Regions from separate parts of the Homo sapiens genome. Here region 2 is linked to region 1. Evidence: promoter capture Hi-C in 16 types of primary human blood cells and fetal thymus (Javierre and others, 2016). All regions are on one chromosome and are shown on one strand. Each heading gives the region's core, a stretch centred on a gene start or on the middle of the fragment in contact. The rest is flanking DNA. Distances are from core to core; before and after follow the strand shown.

The links. The method cuts DNA at HindIII sites, captures the fragments that hold promoters and counts their contacts. A CHiCAGO score of 5 or more calls a contact.
Region 2: a contact is called between the fragment with the promoter of MCCC2 here and the fragment with the promoter of SGTB in region 1, in 4 of 17 cell types (naive B cells, activated CD4 T cells, naive CD8 T cells and 1 more). The highest score is 11.1, in naive B cells.

What each region holds. Positions count from the first base shown.
Region 1 is chr5:65,719,383-65,724,165 of GRCh38, forward strand. SGTB (small glutamine rich tetratricopeptide repeat co-chaperone beta) reads right to left here and starts at 2,727. Exons shown (of 11, transcript NM_019072.3): 1 at 2,535-2,727; 2 at 1,326-1,447. The coding sequence starts at 1,425. NLN (neurolysin) reads left to right here and starts at 2,823. Exons shown (of 13, transcript NM_020726.5): 1 at 2,823-3,032. The coding sequence starts at 2,992. RefSeq lists silencers at 57-253, 2,298-2,347, 2,408-2,457, 2,528-3,137 and enhancers at 3,414-4,235, 4,008-4,087. The HindIII fragment of the contact is 2,154 bases long and covers 1,723-3,876 here.
Region 2 is chr5:71,585,505-71,590,287 of GRCh38, forward strand. MCCC2 (methylcrotonyl-CoA carboxylase subunit 2) reads left to right here and starts at 1,836. Exons shown (of 17, transcript NM_022132.5): 1 at 1,836-2,050. The coding sequence starts at 1,922. RefSeq lists an enhancer at 1,495-2,281. The HindIII fragment of the contact is 6,273 bases long and covers 1-3,133 here.

The DNA.
Region 1 (4,783 bases), core at 1,477-3,976:
AGTTTGAGAACAGCCTGGGCAACATGGCGAAACTCTGTCTCTACAAAAAAAAATACAAAACTTAGCCGGGTGTGGTAGTGTACTCCTGTAGTCCCAGCTACTCAGGAGGCCGAGGTGGGAGGATCAATTGAGCCCAGGAGGTGGAGGTTGCAGTGAGCCGAGATTGTGCCACTACACTCCAGCCTGGGTGACAGAGCCAGACAGACCCTGTCTCAAAAAATAAATAAATAAATAAAAGACTTTAGGCCACAGGGACACCAGATTCACTGAACCTCCACAAGCCCATCTGCAGAATTCTACCTTGTTATGGTTGTACTGAATTTAAATTTTATAACACATAAACATGAAGAACAAAGACGGTGTCGAGGAAACACATGATGCTATCACCCACATCCTGTTCAACTTTACAGATTACCGAATCCAATATTAAAGTTAACGTAAAACACAGGTGAAATGCTCCCATTTCAAGTTCCAAATTAGGCACTGGTCAGATCTCACTAGTGGTATAATTATTAGACTTTTACATAGTGCTATTAAAATGACTCAGGTATTTTTATATATTATTTCTAAACTGGATGCTTTCCTATTAGGAAATGGAGACAACAAGATCTTCAGAGTATTAACCAGGATTTAAATCTCAGCTTTATCACATATCAGCTGTGTTATCTGCTTACGCTATTTGGTTTCATTTTCTTTTTCTTTTTTTTTTTTTTTTTTTGAGATAGGGTCTCGCTCATGGCCCAGGCTGGAGTGCAGTGGTGTGATCTCAGCTCACTGCAACCTCCACCTCCTGGGTTTAAGCCACCCTCCTATCTCAGCCTCCTGAGTAGCTGGGACTACAGGCAAGTGCCACCACACCTGGCTACTTTTTGTATTTTTAGTAGAGACAGGGTTTTGCCATGTTGCCCAGCCTGGTCTTGAACTCCTGACCTCAAATGACCTACCTGCCTCGGCCTCCCAAAGTGCTGGGATTACAGGCATGAGCCACCAAGCCTGGCCCTGGTTTTATTTTCTCACTTGTTAAATGGGGATAATACTAACATAACAGTTGCTGTGAAGAAAAAATTGCCTATAATATGAACAGCATACTTCTGACATATAGTATTTGTTCAATAAATGAACAATAGTCCTCTTAATTTGTTGTTAAAACAAACAAAACAAGCTTCAGAAAATGGAAATACGATAACCTTATAGTCAGGCCTCTCCTCTTGAAAGATCAAAAAAAATTCTGATTATGTTACAATAGATCATCAAGTTGGGCTTACAGCTATTTTAGTCTTCGTTTATAATTATAATATAAATGAACACAAAGAGCAGATGCATACCTTCCAAACTTTCTTGTTCATCCGAGGTGTAAGTGTCCATCTGACTTTGTTCCCGTAAGAAACGAATAACTGCATAAACCAGGTGCTTGATAGATGACATTTTAGAAGCTTAAACACTTTTCCTTGATAAGAAAAATGAAAACACTGAACTAAGTTATTTTAAAGAATCAGTCAGGAAAGTCATAAATTACAAAGATGATATGGGTTATAAAGTGTATTAAAGGTAAAAACAAAACACAAAACTGTATGACCTTTCATCTTTTCTCTTTGTAAAGAGTCAGGAGAGCACAAAGTATTGTGAAGGTAATTTATTACATATTTTCATTAATACCCAGTGGTATACGAGTATGTTAAATCTTGGAATAAGTAAAAATGTCTTCAAAACATGTACAGCATAAGCTTAGACTGTCACTGCATATCTCACCATACAGAAATCCCCTAAAGGCCTCAGTACTAAGTTAAGAGGCATTTCATACTGCTGACTAAAAGCTGATGTATACCAAGCATCTTCCTCTTTTTCATGGGATCTAAAAAAAGTATTAATAATGTACACTCTACCCACTTTTGTAGGTTGAGAGTTATTTGATGAGGAAACACATTCGCGAAAGGTTATTCAAGTGGTGAGTGTCGTTCTTAATAAAAATGGCATTTCTATTTAATCAGCAGACATGTCAGGAAATCGCTGCCCAAGTCGATGGATACTACAAGCCGACCGGCGCTCCCTGCAGAGGCTGTGCTCTCGTGGACAAGCTGGAAGCTCCCGGTCATGTTCATTCACATGGAATACTATCGCATCCAAACAGTGGCGCAGGGCCAGGCGGCATTCATGGCTGATTTCCACCAAATCGCATCATCCATCTGCTCCCCAGGTTCCCTAATTCAAAGCCAGGGTGTGGTACCCGCCGCTATAATGTTTATTATTTGTGTAGTTATTTTAAAGGCGATGTCAGCCTCTAGGCCACGGGGTCATAAGCACTAAATAAGGCCCCAGGGCAGAAGGTAAAAACAGAATGGGGGGAAAAGGGGTGAGAAGAGGGAAATAGGCTTCTCCCCCTTCCTCTCCCCAGAGCGCATCGAGCTCCCCCTCCCTTCCGTCCTCCCTCAGGTACCCGGCCTCGCCTCGGCCCTGCCCGGTGTGCAGCGGGTGCCGGTGCGGGCCCCGGTCCGGAGCGGCGGGAGGCGCACCCTTGCCAGACAGAAGCCCCTTACCAAGCAGGAGGACGCGAGACGACTGCTGCTGGCCCGCGGGGTTCCGTAGGCAGGCCCGCCCGACCCCTGGTCCTCGGGGCTGGAGCCCGGCTCGGGATCGCAGCACTGGTCGCGGCGGCGCAAACTTCCCCGGCCCCTAGGCCGTAGACCCCAGAACCCACCAGGCTGTGCTCTCTCTCAGGCGGCAGGGTCTGGCCAGCACCGCCCCTGGGGCGGGGCCGGACGCGAGGGCTGGGGCGGGGCCAGACACGCGAGCTGGGGCGGGGCACGGCGCGGGGCGGGGCTGGTAGGCGCCGGCGTGGAGCTGCCGCACGTGGGAGGGCGCTGGCCAGGCAGCCACTGTGGCCTCTGCGGCTAGGCCGGCTCGAGACTCCCGGGCGCCCAGGCGCTGCCGCCCGCCTCGCCGCCCCACGCCGAAGGACCACGCGCCCGCCGCCGCCAGCCTCTCAGCGCTCCCATGATCGCCCGGTGCCTTTTGGCTGTGCGAAGCCTCCGCAGGTACCTCCAGCGCGCGGGTTAACCTTGGCCGTGGGCAGGGCGGGGTCTTTCGCCGTGTGGTGCCTGGAGCCCGGACCCACCCCTTCCCGACCGCGCCTCTCCGACGCTCCCGGGACGCACCCTCCCCGCGGCTTGCAAGGTGGACCCCTGGGGGACACCTGGCGCGGCCACCTGGGGCCACCTTTCCCGCCTCCGCTCCCTCGGGAGGACGTCCATTCCTCTTTGTTTGGGACTGCCTCAGCCGCAGTCAGCGAGGCTGGTCACAGACGCGGCCCAAAATGAATGCAAATAGTTTGGATAAGAAAATCATTTCACGTTCAATCCCAATGCAGAACTACAGACCTGTCATTAAAAGTGCCGCAGCTGTGGACTCAGAACAATTGTGTTTGCTCCTCGCGCCCATTATTAGCATTCCAATCGTTTAACATCCACCCGAGATGAAACCTCTTTGGTGGTGTTGCTTGTTTCCGTCCATGCTCTCTGACTTCCTTTTTTATTTTCCTCCTCCCCATAAAACAAACATTCTGCCTCTTGCCGGTGCAAATTGACTTGGCCCAAAATGGAGAAAATGATCGCTTGGACACGGCTTTGGGCAGCCTGAGCTGCTGTTTTGGATTGCTTCCTAGCCCTCTAACCACACCCCACTGCAACAGACCAGTAGCAAGATGGTGAGGGAATTAAATTCTTTGCACGGATGCGCTGGTTTTCGGAAACAATGCCGCCACCATCCCCGTTTCCAAATCTGCCCAGAACTGTAAATCCAAATGAAGATTCAACAGAATAAAGAAAATGTGTGCTTCTTGCTAGCTATCAACAAAACTACTTTGTAACATGTCAGCATTTAAGCTTTCTACAGTTCCCTTTTGCACATTGCCACTCGTCTGTGTGGATGGAGCTTTGTGTTGCTCAGTCCGTAGAGTTAGGGAGCAGGCAGGCGACAGTGGTTAATTACAAAGAGTTAATGTGGTGATTGGTGACCATATTTCAGCCTGTCGTTTTTTGCTAGTCTCCAGGCTGCAATCGATATAGCTGTCAAATGAAGTTATACCAAGAAATGAAGACTTCACATAATGCAGGGGTGAGAGGAGGGAATAAATCTTCATATAAGAGCAATTCTCGGCCGGGCGCTGTGGCTCATGCCTGTAATCCCAGCACTTTGGGAGGCCGAGGCGGGTGGATCACGAGGTCAGGAGATCGAGACCATCCTGGCTAACACGGTGAAACCCCGTCTCTACTAAAAAATACAAAAAATTAGCCGGGCGTGGTGGCGGGCGCCTGTAGTCCCAGCTACTCGGGAGGCTGAGGCAGGAGAATGGCATGAACCCGGGAGGCGAAGCTTGCAGTGAGCCGAGATCGCACCACTGTACTCTAGCCTGGGCGACAGAGCAAGACTCCGTCTCAAAAAAAAAAAAAAAAAAAAAAGAACAATTCTCAAACTTTTTATTCTCAGGACCCCTTTACCTTTCAAAAATTACCGTGGACCTAAGAGCTTCTGTTTGTGTGGTATATCTGTCTATATTTACCATATTAGACATTAAAGCTGGAAAAAAATTAAAGTAGTTGTTAATTTACAAAACTAATAAATAGGCTAGGTGCATAAATAGTGATTTTAATGAAAAATAACTATTTTCCAAACCAACCCCCCCGCCCCCCAATCAGTGAGAAGATTAACATTGTGGGGTTTTTTCCCTTTTTTTTAAAATTGTGGTAAGATATAACAAAATTTACCATTTTGATAATTTTTAAGTGTA
Region 2 (4,783 bases), core at 586-3,085, 5.9 Mb after region 1:
CCTCTCTTCTGATACCCTGATACATATGAAAAGTCAGTTTTTACTGGCCTTTTTTTCTGTTGACCATGGGAGGCAAGCACAGTGTAAATCATACCTTTGCAGTTTAGCTCATGCTCTCCTCCATTTGCACAAAGCCTGGCCATGTTCATTGCTCAGTCCACTCTCAACGCTTCTGCAAGGCTCAGCTGCAACCCTTTCCCAATTGCATTCTGTTCCTTTAATGTCTGTCCTACACAGTTCAGTAAGAAATCATGTGGCCATTTGTATTATTTTCTTATAAGTACCTTGAAGTCTGAACCTAAGTTTACCTCCAGGTGTAGACGCACCCTTTCTCTACCCCATCCTCCCCCTTTACTCTGCCCCACTAAGCAACCAATGGAGTAGAAGTAGTAAGTGCTCAATAAATATGTGAATGAAAAACCTTAAGTTCAAGGCATTTTGTATAGAATGTTTTAATTTTTATGGGTATATTTGGAGTCCTTTATTTAAGACCACAGTGCTGATGTCCACAATCTGTCACTACATAGTGCCTGGTGTGGTGGCTCATGTCTGTAATCCCAGCACTTTGGGAGGCTGTGGCGGGCAGATCGCTTGAGTCCAGGAGTTCAAGACCAGCATAGCCAACATGGTGAAACCCCTACAAAAATAAAAAATTAGCCGGGCTTGGTGGCACAAACCTGTAGTCTCAGCTACTGGAAAGGCTGAGGTGGGAGGTCAAGGATTCAGCGAGCTGTGATCGTGCCACTGCATTGCAGCCTGGGCGACAGAGTGAGGCCCTGTCTCAAAAAATGAAATAAAGTAAAAAATAAAAATAACTACATAGCGAAAATAATCAGAAGAATGTTTAAGGTCTCCAGTGAAAGGACAACAGGCTTGTTGTGCTGTTCGCAAGCACGTGTTAGATGCGATTCACTCATGTTGTTGGTGTGTCACTGGGGGTTGTGACTGCAAGTTGTCCAGGTTCTTGGCATTGTGAACAAAGAATTGGACAAAACGCCCAGCAAAGCAAAGAAAGAACAAGGCAACGAAAGAACGAAAGCAGGGATTTACCGAAAACGAAAGTGCACTCCACAATGTGGGAGCGGACCGAGCAGAGCTCAAGGGCCCGGATATAGAATCTTCTTGGGTCCAAATACCCACTAGAAGTTTCCTATTGGCCATTTTATGCTCACCTCAAACCCGATTGGTTGCAAGAAGCAAGCAGTCAGAGGCTAGGGTGAAATTACAAAGTTATACTTCTATGCAAACGAAGACTGGACCCCCAATCAGTCTGATTGGTTGTGGACAGCAACCATTCAGAGGCTGGAGTTAAGGTTCAAACTTGGCAAAGCAAGCCTCCACCAGCAGTAAGTCTGATTTGTCGGGGACAGCCAATTTCCTATCTGCCCTGCGGAAAAGGTGGGGGGGTTTGCAAAGGGAGTAGCCTTTGGTCCTTTTGTTACTTAGGCATGGAAAGTTAGGGTTTTCCTTTCAGTTTAGCTCTAGGAAGTCAGCGTGAGACAGCCTTAGGTTCCCTGCTTCCAGACTTATTCTCCTGCCTTAGGTACAGTCACTATCGTGATATTATCTATCGCTGTGTCAACACAACACCAATCCAAGCCCAACCGCAGCTCTCTCACTGCCGCACCGCTTCGTGAGGGTCGATCCGCCGGGGAGACCTGCTCTCCTGCGCTCGGGACTAGACGCGACCTCGCGGGGCTGAGGCTCTGTCCCTTATTGGCTGGGTCAGGGGGCGTGGCGCGGCTTGACCAATCGCGGGCGGCGCGCTTAGGCACGTGTGTGGACAGGCCTGAGAATCAGAGAAACCTTCTCTGGGGCTGCAAGGACCTGAGCTCAGCTTCCGCCCCAGCCAGGGAAGCGGCAGGGGAAAGCACCGGCTCCAGGCCAGCGTGGGCCGCTCTCTCGCTCGGTGCCCGCCGCCATGTGGGCCGTCCTGAGGTTAGCCCTGCGGCCGTGTGCCCGCGCCTCTCCCGCCGGGCCGCGCGCCTATCACGGGGACTCGGTGGCCTCGCTGGGCACCCAGCCGGACTTGGGCTCTGCCCTCTACCAGGTAGGCTGAGCGCCCCGGTGGCCTGGCCGCCGGTGCCAGGCTAGGAAGCAAGTGGAGGAGGGGCACGCTTCAACAACTGCTGCTCTCTTGTCCGGAGCCCCAGTTGATTCTGTGACGCACGTGAAGTTTGAAGAAGAAAAGCCTAACAGATACAAGAAAGTTTAGTTCACTTTTAGAGCTGGCACTGTACTTTGTGTCTTTGAAATCAGTGGTTCTTAAAGCCTGGTTTAGAATTGCCACCTGGGGAGCTAGCTGAATAGCTGCCTGAGCCCTACTCTGGACCTTGTGGGTCTCAGGTGGAGTCGCTGTGTTTATATTGTTAGTGAACTCATTAGGGGACTTTTGGCAGCCAGCTTTGGGAACCACTGGCCTAGAGCAGCCCAACGAGGGGCGCTGTGCTTAGGAAATTTGAGTTTAAAAGTTGATTATGATGGCCGAGCCCAGTGGCTCACGCCTGTAATCCCAGCGCTTTGGGAGGCCCTGGCGGGTGGATTACCTGAGATCAGGAGTTCGAGAACAGCCTGGCCAACGTGGTGAAACCCCATCTCTACTAAGAATACAAAAATTAGCCGGGCATGGTGGCGCGCGCCTGTAATCCCAGCTACCTGGGAGGCTGAGGCAGGGGAATCGCTTGAACTTGGGAGGCGGAGGTTGCAGTGAGCTGAGATCGTGCCATTGCACTCCAGCCTTGGCAACAAGAGCGAACTCTGTCTCAAAAAAAAAAAAAAAAAAAAGTTGGTTATGTTAATAGAAAATATCCCACAGTATCTTTGAGTGGCTTTTCTTGGAATTAGGAGGCATCATAAGGCCAAAAAACTCAAAACTTGCGAAATATCAGAGCTGGAAAATTTCACTGTGTTCCCACGATTTCTAAGCCTATACAGATAACATCTAAATAGTGCAAACAACACACAATTGTTTGTCAGTCCAGAATGTTTAATTCAGAATTATTAAGTGGTTATTGTGGTCTAGGCACTATTTTAGATATTTGGCATGGATGCGTAGGAATGGAACTAATAATTTTGTAGGGAAGATGGACAAGAAAGCAGGTAACTGTGGTACAGTGTAAGAAGGGTTGTCTAAAGCTTGAGAAGGTGGTTACAGAAAGCTACCGATAGGAAGTAATGGGTGAGATGAATCTTGGGTAAGAGCTGGCCAAGTTCAGGGTGCAGGATGGAAGGTAAGACTGTATAAACCAAGAGAGTTACAAGAACATAGGTACTGAGTTATGAAAGTGTATATCTGGTGTGAGGACTTGAATTCCATGTCTAGGACATGGAATTCATTGAATAGTGTCTGGTGATGGGATTGATTGATTATGGGGCCAGATAGAGGAGGATCTTCCATGCAAAAGCCACATTTAGATTCCATTTGGCAGGTTGTCCATTAAAATATTTAAGTAGATAAGTGGCATGATCCTATGGATATGGTAGAATCATCAGTGTGGTGGCAATGTGGAGGATGGATTGATATAGGGAAAAGACTAGACCTAGGTGACAGTGGAGAGTTGAGTCTTGAGATGAAGGAGTCAAAGTTAGAGTTGTATGTAGGAGGGGGGCATAAATACCTGAGGAGCAAAGATTATAGAGTTAATAACTGAGTGGAAGGGGAAAATGGATGACTTTGGAGTTTCCAACTGGGCAGAATATTTAGTTAGGTGGAACTGCCATTAATACAAAGAAGGCTTTGGTGATGGGTTTTGTATGAATCACCTTTTGCTAGGTTGCGCTTTGTGTAACAAATAATCAAAAAATCTCAGTAACTCACAACAGTAAATATTAGTCTCTCACTTGATTTTGTTTTGTTTCTTAATCTCTCACTCGTGTTGGTGGCCTTTGGTTAGCTGCTGCTGTGACTGTTCCACTGCAGGGTAGGTTCAGGTCTGCTCCATGTGTCTTCCCATTCCTGGACTGAGGCTGAAGAGCAGCCCTGAATTAAACATGCCCTTCTCATGGCCGAAGGCACAGGAGCAAGAGGCTGAACACAAATTGGATTTAAAATCCTTGCTGGCATGTGATGAAATTAATGTGTGCTCACATTAGACAAAGCAAGTCCATGAGGGTGGGGGAGAATGGGATGAATGATCCAGTTTAGCTGTGTTTCCTGATTACAAATAAAAGCAACTATAATAAGTAATAATAATGGCAGGAATTTTATAGTGTACCCACCATTTTTCTAAAGGCTTTATGTGGTTTTACTCATGTATTTATCATAATGATCCTGTGCAGTAGGTACAATTGTTATTTCTGTTTTATAGATGGGAAAACTGTGGTATATAGGGTCCAAGAAATTTGTCTGAGATAACACAGAGCCTGAATTTGAAGCCAGGTGGTCTGGCTCATAACTCTTGAGTCCAGGGTCTTAACTGTTGCTCTATAATGCTTCTCACTCACCCAGCTCTACCTAGGTGGGTTCTATGGTTGAAAAGATGGGGTGGGAAACTTGTCAGTGGCTCAGCTCCAATTCATTATGACTGTCAGGCACTAACCTCTGTGGTTGCTCAGCTTCACAAGAAAATTACTAGGTTGTAGAATGTTGTTTCGCAGGTGATTAAAACACACACACACACACACACAAACACAAACACCTGGCGTCCTGAGAGATCAAGATTTGCCAAATGCAGTATCAGTAAGTAGGGAAACTGAAAGTTGAACTTGGTTTTGCCACTAAACTACACTGCCTCTTGGTTAGTGAGTCTCATCCTAAGGAGGCTAGGTTGGTTGATAAAGGATT